3 separate regions of the Homo sapiens genome follow, and all the other regions are linked to region 2. Evidence: promoter capture Hi-C in human tissues and cell types (Jung and others, 2019). All regions are on one chromosome and are shown on one strand. Each heading gives the region's core, a stretch centred on a gene start or on the middle of the fragment in contact. The rest is flanking DNA. Distances are from core to core; before and after follow the strand shown. Region 1 overlaps ARL6 (ARF like GTPase 6). Region 2 holds the start of GPR15 (G protein-coupled receptor 15). Region 3 overlaps CRYBG3 (crystallin beta-gamma domain containing 3).

The links. The method cuts DNA at HindIII sites, captures the fragments that hold promoters and counts their contacts. A contact is called where the count stands out against the background at its distance.
Region 1: a contact is called between a fragment that was not itself captured here and the fragment with the promoter of GPR15 in region 2, in 1 of the 25 tissues and cell types used here (hippocampus).
Region 3: a fragment that was not itself captured here is called in contact with the fragment with the promoter of GPR15 in region 2 in 1 of the 25 tissues and cell types used here (dorsolateral prefrontal cortex).

Annotation. Positions count from the first base shown.
Region 1 is chr3:97,795,896-97,798,595 of GRCh38, forward strand. ARL6 (ARF like GTPase 6) reads left to right here. Exons shown (of 8, transcript NM_001278293.3): 8 at 2,129-2,700. The coding sequence ends at 2,154. Among named protein-coding and RNA genes, the nearest start is that of CRYBG3, 25 kb to the right of the region's middle. The HindIII fragment of the contact is 3,468 bases long and covers 1-2,700 here.
Region 2 is chr3:98,530,612-98,533,311 of GRCh38, forward strand. It overlaps GPR15 (G protein-coupled receptor 15), which reads left to right and starts at 1,367. Exons shown (of 1, transcript NM_005290.4): 1 at 1,367-2,700. The coding sequence starts at 1,423. The coding sequence ends at 2,505. RefSeq lists a silencer at 1,228-1,387. The HindIII fragment of the contact is 5,385 bases long and covers 1-2,187 here.
Region 3 is chr3:97,932,861-97,935,560 of GRCh38, forward strand. CRYBG3 (crystallin beta-gamma domain containing 3) reads left to right here. Exons shown (of 22, transcript NM_153605.4): 18 at 834-973. Among named protein-coding and RNA genes, the nearest start is that of RIOX2, 38 kb to the right of the region's middle. The HindIII fragment of the contact is 3,013 bases long and covers 1-2,700 here.

The DNA.
Region 1 (2,700 bases), core at 181-2,680, 730 kb before region 2:
TAACTCTCTTCTACTGCTCCTATTTCTCCCAGAAAACAATGACAGTAGGCAGGATATAGGAAGAGTCATCTTTGGGGAATCAGACCAGCCTAAGAGCAAATATCTAAAGGTATTAATATTGGAGATCCCAAGGAAATGGCTTAGCCAGACGTACTAAAAGGAAGACCATATTTGACAAGCTTCACACACGTTTGCAAATTCCAATCAATTTTTTAGTGTTCACTTATACATATGAACAGATGGCAAAGGATGACCAGGCATTTGAGGATGAAAACATTATGAAATATGGGAATGTGCACAAACAAGAAAAGTGGGTTCGAGTAAGTAGAATTTATATAGAGAGAACATTTCAAAAAACTGTTAAAGAGTATCCTCAAAGAGATAAGAGAAGGTGTTACTTTCATGAATAAAGGCAGTAAACTACTTGAAAAGAAAGAACGAAAAAAAATGAGTTCTTGGAAAATAAGAATATAGTAGTTGAAATGAAAAATTTAGTTTTAAAAAGATGATAAAATAGAGGCAAACTCCCAGAAAGTAGAGCAGAAAGACAAAGAATAGAAAATTTGAAAGAAAAGAAAGGGGTCATGTTCAGGAGGCCCAATATCCAAATAATAGGAAATTCAGAAAGAGAGAACAGAAAAAAGTAGAGGATAGCAAATCCTCGAACAGTATTTTCTAGAACTAAATTGATGAGTTTTCAGTTGACAGGCCTCTCAAGAGCTCAATACAGTGGATAAAAATATTCCCATACCAGCAGGTATCATTACTAAAATGCAGTGCTGCAAACAGTGGAAGATTCTGCAAGCTTCCTGAGAAAAAAAATTAAAGCTTCCTGAGGAAAAAAAGAATAAGAAAACAGAATAACATCAGATTTATCAACAGCAACAACTTGGAAGCTGTAAGATAATTGGGAAATGCCTGGAAGAGTCCAAGGAGGGAATAATAGAATTATATACTCAGGCAGTATCAGTGCATTTTGACAGTAGAATAAAGACATCTTCAGCTATATGGTATCTCAAGAATTTACTTTCTGTCCTTTTTACTAAGGTAGCCACTGAGAAGAATATTTTTCAAAAACAGGAAAATCTTGGTACCAGCATTATCAAAAAAATAAAAGGAAATAAACCAAGAAGAGAAAATTGAGGGATCATGAGACAGGAAAACCAGCACAGAGAGTAGGGGAAGGAATCCCCAGGATATTAATGGAGACCCTAGAATGATAAGGAAGATATTGTAACAAAATGACTGTGGCAGGCATAGAGAAAATGAGTATAGATTCTAGAGTTTTTTATAAGACTCTGTGGAAGAGTTCTTCAAGAAGGCAAAGTAGATGGACTGTGTAATGTACTTCATAGTAATAAAGGTTTAAACTCTGGGAGTGGTGCAATTGAATTAGTGTTAAGTACATACAATTAAATAGATGAGTTGGATGGGAGTGGGAAAGACAATTATTAACTCTAGGAGGGATAAAATATAGAAGAGGAAAGAAAAAGTATACCACCTGTCTTAGCTGTGAATAGCATTTACAGAGTCATCATATTGACAATGACTATATTAGTGTGTTAGGAGAATGGGGGTATTAGAAGTATTATGAGGGTTGCCTAGGAGCAGCATGGGAGTGTGAGAGAGCTGATGTCTCATATTACATTGAAGGAAATGATATTTGAAGAAGTAACAATAAAAGTATATTATTTAGAGGTATTATAAGTATTCATCTAAAAGGGAGTTATAAGTAGTTGCCCCTGAAAGGGAGGAATGGAGAAGAAGCAAAGTACTGCTGTTTTGCCTAGAAATCTCATAGAACTAGTTGACTCTATGCAAATGTACAACTTTGATAAAAATAATAACTATAGATGAATTGTGCTTTTAAAAAAGCAGGTGTAGCTGGACCTGGTGCACACTTGTAGTCTCAACTACTAGAGAGGTTCAGGTGGGAGGACCACTTGCACCCAGAAGTTCCAGTACAGCCTGGGCCACATAGCAAGATCCTATCTCTAAAAAATAATAATAACAAAAGCACATGTATACATAAGTTTCCAACATGTTGTATAGATTTGACTTAGATTACTTTAGAAAATAGATTTTGCCCTATAGAGATTGATAATTTTTGTTTGTTTTTTGTTATCAGATCAGATCCAGACTGTGAAGACATGAAAAGATAATAGTTGGAAACCTCAGCAATTTTCAATTCAAGGAATCTATCTAAGACAAATAGAATACATTTTGTAAAAGATGTTTATGCATCAAAAAATATAATTTTCTGCTTGCATTTATGGACTCTGACCTTTTTAAGAACATAGGACTTCAGGTATGCTAATTTGGCCATTAATTATTTAAAAACTAAATATTCCCTCAAAAGGGCTCCCTAGAATTATCAAGTTCTTAGTGAAGGTCTACATTTGATTGTACGTAGAATGTTTAAAAGTCAGTTATAAGCCATCTCATCCCATCATAATTTATGATATGTTTAATATATTTTATTTTTTAATTGTCTTTTTAAAAAATTTAGTTTATGACTTTGCAGTATGAATTGTGCTTGTGAAAAAGAACTTTAAATATTTATAAGGGACCATGGGTAATTAATATATATTCAATTTTTACTATGTGTCACTGTCAATAAAATGTAAAATATAATGTGCCAACTAGTGCGCTTTGTTTATGCTGAAAAGAATAATGCTCTGTTAGTATGGTATTTCGTGT
Region 2 (2,700 bases), core at 117-2,616:
AGAGAAGAATAGTGCAAGAGAGCCTTGAGTCACTTTGACCAGTAAAGAGCTGAAATAAATGGAGTCCGTTTCAAAATGTGTTATATTTTACTATGGTCATCATAATATAAAAGGAAACATATGAGAGAAAAATGTGATAGAATTCTTTCTGTTTTAGCCTGTTCCCCAAGTGTTTTAAATGTACTAAAAAATCTTCCCTTTTATAGTGTCCATGCTGGCACCTCCATCATGATGTCACTTATAGGTATATCTGTTGCCAGATCAGCAATCAGCAATTCCAAAAGTGATGTTCACCCATGTGTGGAGGTACCAGAAGGCCATGGCTCAGAAGCTAAAAAAATCAGTGCTACACAGGTGTGGTATAATGAAGAGAAGATCAGAGGGGATCCAGAGTCTGATGAAGCGTATTTGAGGGTTAATAGGGAGAAAATCTCCTAATCAATGATGTTAACTCTTAACAAAAGAGAACTTCACTGGTTGAATTACAATAGCAGATAGGAGGGTAAAAATAGCAACTTGAGATTGTTAAACCTGTGTTTGTAAGTTACATAAATAACAACAATACCTGAAGTTAGACCCCAATGAATTCATTTCTACTAGATATGCTGGATAACAAAAAGAATTTTCTGAATCAAACCTAATAAACTACAATTTCCAAAGCACCAACTATATGCAAGATGCTATGCAAGTTGTAGTGGAAAACTTAAAATAATAAGAGCAGAAAACGTGGTCCCAGTCTTTGGGGGGGGATTTTTAAAAACTTATGAAACAGGATTGACTACATGTCAAATGAAAGAGCCACATAGATGGGGAGACTCTCATGCCCTAAATGGAATCATGTTGTTTGACCTAGTTGTATACTGGTATGATTTGGGAAACTTTTCATTCACTCTTTACACAATGAAAGACTAGTTTTCTTCCTAGTTCGCCAACAAAGTAAATAAAAAGAATACATTATCATTGCCTTACAATTCTAAAAGCAGAACAATATCTTCTATGTGAAACAGAAGGCTAGATCAAAATAAATTTCAGTGTCAAAAGCAAAGGAGGTCTTTAAAGGAAGTGAAAAAATCAAGTTAATTCACTTCTTAATTACTGGCCTTAAAGAAATAAATTGAATATCTTGAAAAAATAACTCAAAAAGCACCTCAGTTTCACGAGCAAATGCAAATTAAAAAAACCACAACCACAACCAACCAACACCAATCAGAGTGGTGCTCCTTGTGTGCCCTTTCTGAGGATTGGTAGAAACTGCATTTTTTAATCTCGGCTTTCATGTTTGTCCAAGATCTTTAAAGGGAGGGGAAAAAAGAGAGAGAGAGGCAGGCACTGTATAAAAGAAGCTTCCTTGAGGTTTCTAAAATTTATACAAAAACATCATATGTAAGTAAACTCACCAGATTTGGCATCTGCTCTTTGGTGATGGACCCAGAAGAAACTTCAGTTTATTTGGATTATTACTATGCTACGAGCCCAAACTCTGACATCAGGGAGACCCACTCCCATGTTCCTTACACCTCTGTCTTCCTTCCAGTCTTTTACACAGCTGTGTTCCTGACTGGAGTGCTGGGGAACCTTGTTCTCATGGGAGCGTTGCATTTCAAACCCGGCAGCCGAAGACTGATCGACATCTTTATCATCAATCTGGCTGCCTCTGACTTCATTTTTCTTGTCACATTGCCTCTCTGGGTGGATAAAGAAGCATCTCTAGGACTGTGGAGGACGGGCTCCTTCCTGTGCAAAGGGAGCTCCTACATGATCTCCGTCAATATGCACTGCAGTGTCCTCCTGCTCACTTGCATGAGTGTTGACCGCTACCTGGCCATTGTGTGGCCAGTCGTATCCAGGAAATTCAGAAGGACAGACTGTGCATATGTAGTCTGTGCCAGCATCTGGTTTATCTCCTGCCTGCTGGGGTTGCCTACTCTTCTGTCCAGGGAGCTCACGCTGATTGATGATAAGCCATACTGTGCAGAGAAAAAGGCAACTCCAATTAAACTCATATGGTCCCTGGTGGCCTTAATTTTCACCTTTTTTGTCCCTTTGTTGAGCATTGTGACCTGCTACTGTTGCATTGCAAGGAAGCTGTGTGCCCATTACCAGCAATCAGGAAAGCACAACAAAAAGCTGAAGAAATCTATAAAGATCATCTTTATTGTCGTGGCAGCCTTTCTTGTCTCCTGGCTGCCCTTCAATACTTTCAAGTTCCTGGCCATTGTCTCTGGGTTGCGGCAAGAACACTATTTACCCTCAGCTATTCTTCAGCTTGGTATGGAGGTGAGTGGACCCTTGGCATTTGCCAACAGCTGTGTCAACCCTTTCATTTACTATATCTTCGACAGCTACATCCGCCGGGCCATTGTCCACTGCTTGTGCCCTTGCCTGAAAAACTATGACTTTGGGAGTAGCACTGAGACATCAGATAGTCACCTCACTAAGGCTCTCTCCACCTTCATTCATGCAGAAGATTTTGCCAGGAGGAGGAAGAGGTCTGTGTCACTCTAAAGGGAACTGTGACATTTCAAGCTCTGTTGGTGGGTTTAGGAGTTAATTTTTGTCAGCAACAAAGAAGGAAGTGTTAATGATAGGATTCACATTGCTTCATAGATGCAAGGAAGAGTTCATTTTTAAAGAGAGGACTGAAAAATCCCTGTGTTGTGGATATAATTAGGCCATGTGCTGTTTTCTCAGCTAAGCAGC
Region 3 (2,700 bases), core at 169-2,668, 600 kb before region 2:
CATCCTTTGAGACTGAGCTCACAAGCCACCACATCCATGAAGCTTGATTCCTGCTCCCTTCTGCTAAAAATAATCTAGCTTTCTACTGAGGACTCTGACACAGCATATCTTTTTCTGCACTGGATTACATTACAATATCTGTACAGTTTTAATTTAACTATTTGTTAGTAATTCCCCAGACACAAGGATAGATGGTGCCTTGTTTTATCATCCCCCCAAAAGTCTCTTAACATGGTGTCTTGCATACATTAATGAATGAAAAAGCAATACTGAGTCTATTCTTGTCTGACATGATGGGTTGAAGAAATACTTTTAATGCAGAAATCACCACCATTCTTGTGCATTTCAGCTTTTTTTAAATTAAAAATGCCTTTATTCTTCCTCCTAGGAATATTTTTAAGAGCTTACCACCACAGAGTCTTACATTCCTAGTGACTGCTCCTGTGACCTCCTAGAAATTAGGGTGCCATTCCATTCCATATTTATTCTGTTGCCAGCTAAAAGCATTGGCAGGACTAATTATGGTCCATATTACAGTACCACAAGACCTTAATCTGTGATTTGGAATCATGGGTCTCTTTATTATGGCTGTTTTTATTATGAGATTGATTGCTTTTCTGATAACTTGAATTTTAGTTTACAAAAAAGTGAACAAAAATTATTAATAAAATCTAATCTTTCCAGTGCAGTTTTGACTATAGCAACCTTAGAGAGTAAAACAGTAAACTCCATGCATTTAAGAATACAATGGATTCAGGGTACCCTGTGTTCAGACTGGGATGTCACTGAGATATGGCCACTCCTATGGTGACGCTTTCTTTTTCTGCTAATAGGTTTTTGAAGAACCCTCCATCAGCCTTTTTGCTCTGGAGCATTGTGAGGGAAGAGAGTTACATCTAGAAGAGGCTGTGAACTCTGTTCTGAACAAGGACCTACACTTCTACACCCAGTCTGTGTGGGTAAAAAGTGGACTGTAAGTATGGGAAAAAGGCTTGGTCTGGTTCAGTTACTGTTTTAAGACAGAGTTGCAGAGTTGCAAACCAAGTCCACTGTGTAGTAGTACGCATTCAAGTGGTCTTGAGGAAGAGCCCTTTGGAAGAGAAGGGCTACCATATGGTCACAGCATGTGTCATAGAGTAGGTCAATCAAATGACTTTACCCAGTTGAACTTTCTTTTCAGAAGAAATTTCAATATCCCAGCAACTTTGGTTAAGACAATTTCCTGCTTAAGGCAAGTGACTGCTGGCAAGACCAAGTTCGATGTTGTTTTTTGATTTAATAGCCATGTATTCTAGAGCAGTTCCTCCAGGGTACTCACTTGCCTGTGGACTACACTGGTTGGCCTAGCCTGCCTACCAGTATTGTTGTTCATTTAGGTTATCAGTCAGTCAGGGTAGACCCAGGGGCCTGTGCTTTTACAAATTAGAAAGCTGCCTTTAAGAAAAAATTTAAAATTATGATAGAAATATTAGATATCAATGTGAATACTTAGGACAGAAATGGTGAGAAGCCTGTAAGTGAGGGGCCTTGAAGTTGAAGCTCTGTTTGCTTCCTGGAAAATCTGCCTCTGAATCCAGTTCTGAAGAGTCCGGCATATAAACCAGCCCCTACTCCTGCACTGTTAGTGTTCTGGTAGCAAAAGTCAACTAAAAAAACACACATAGCTCTTGACGGTTAATAAAAAAATGGCTTTAAAAGTTTTTCTATGGCTTTGAAATTCCGTGATAATCAACTGTGCTGGTTTAAATATCTGGGGATAAAGAGAAAGCCAATAATATAAGTGGAGGTGAAAATTAAGCAAACTATTATAATAAATGGCTTTTATATTATACACTTGTATAAATAGCTTAAGTTTTCTTCTGCAAAACATTTTAAATGGTTTGATGTTTATTCAGACAAATTGATTTATTCTATCTAAGCATAAGATTCCAATATATTATTTACCAATTAACTAAATTTTACATCCCTGTGATATAGGTCTTTCACAACATTTTAATTCATTTCTTCCCATTTCTGAGTGAAATTGATACTTGACTCACTTCTGAAAATTTCTCACTTTCTTATTTCATTTTTTTCTGGAACACTGGTGCCATTTTATCTTGACATTCTTATTTCTTCTCTTTGGCTTATTAGCCACCTACTCTCACTATTCCAAATTCTCTTTAAGAGAATTGGAACATGGAGTAAGGAACAGTGAAGGCTGCCTAAGGATTTTCCTAGGTTACAGAATACTACTTAATGTACAGCCAGCTTCCCTTAGTTACAAGTTGGGTTTGTTTTAATCCCCATGCTATGCCACATCTTTGATCTGTGATGATGACAGCCATGCTTAAATGCACCATCCCACACAGTTTTCCAACTGTGGAATTCATTTAAATCAATATATAATTAGGTACATTTTCCTAAAATCTTACCTAGATTTTATAACTGAAACTTCCCTGACAGTTTAAAGAATCTGCAGCGGGAGAGGCAGCTAAGCCTGTCCGTGGTCATGCTGACCTGCCTCTCCACCAGTCTGATTGATTAGATTTGTGTAGGAAGGAGGGGTCAAGAATGGGCCATCCATCTCATTCATCTCTCCATAATTTGGTCAAGTCTGATCTTGGTTGTGGGGAGCAAGGAGGACTTTTCTTAGTGGTGGTCAGGTTGAGTCAGTCATCCCTACCCAAGCTTTCATAGCTGTAATACATCAAGCTTTCC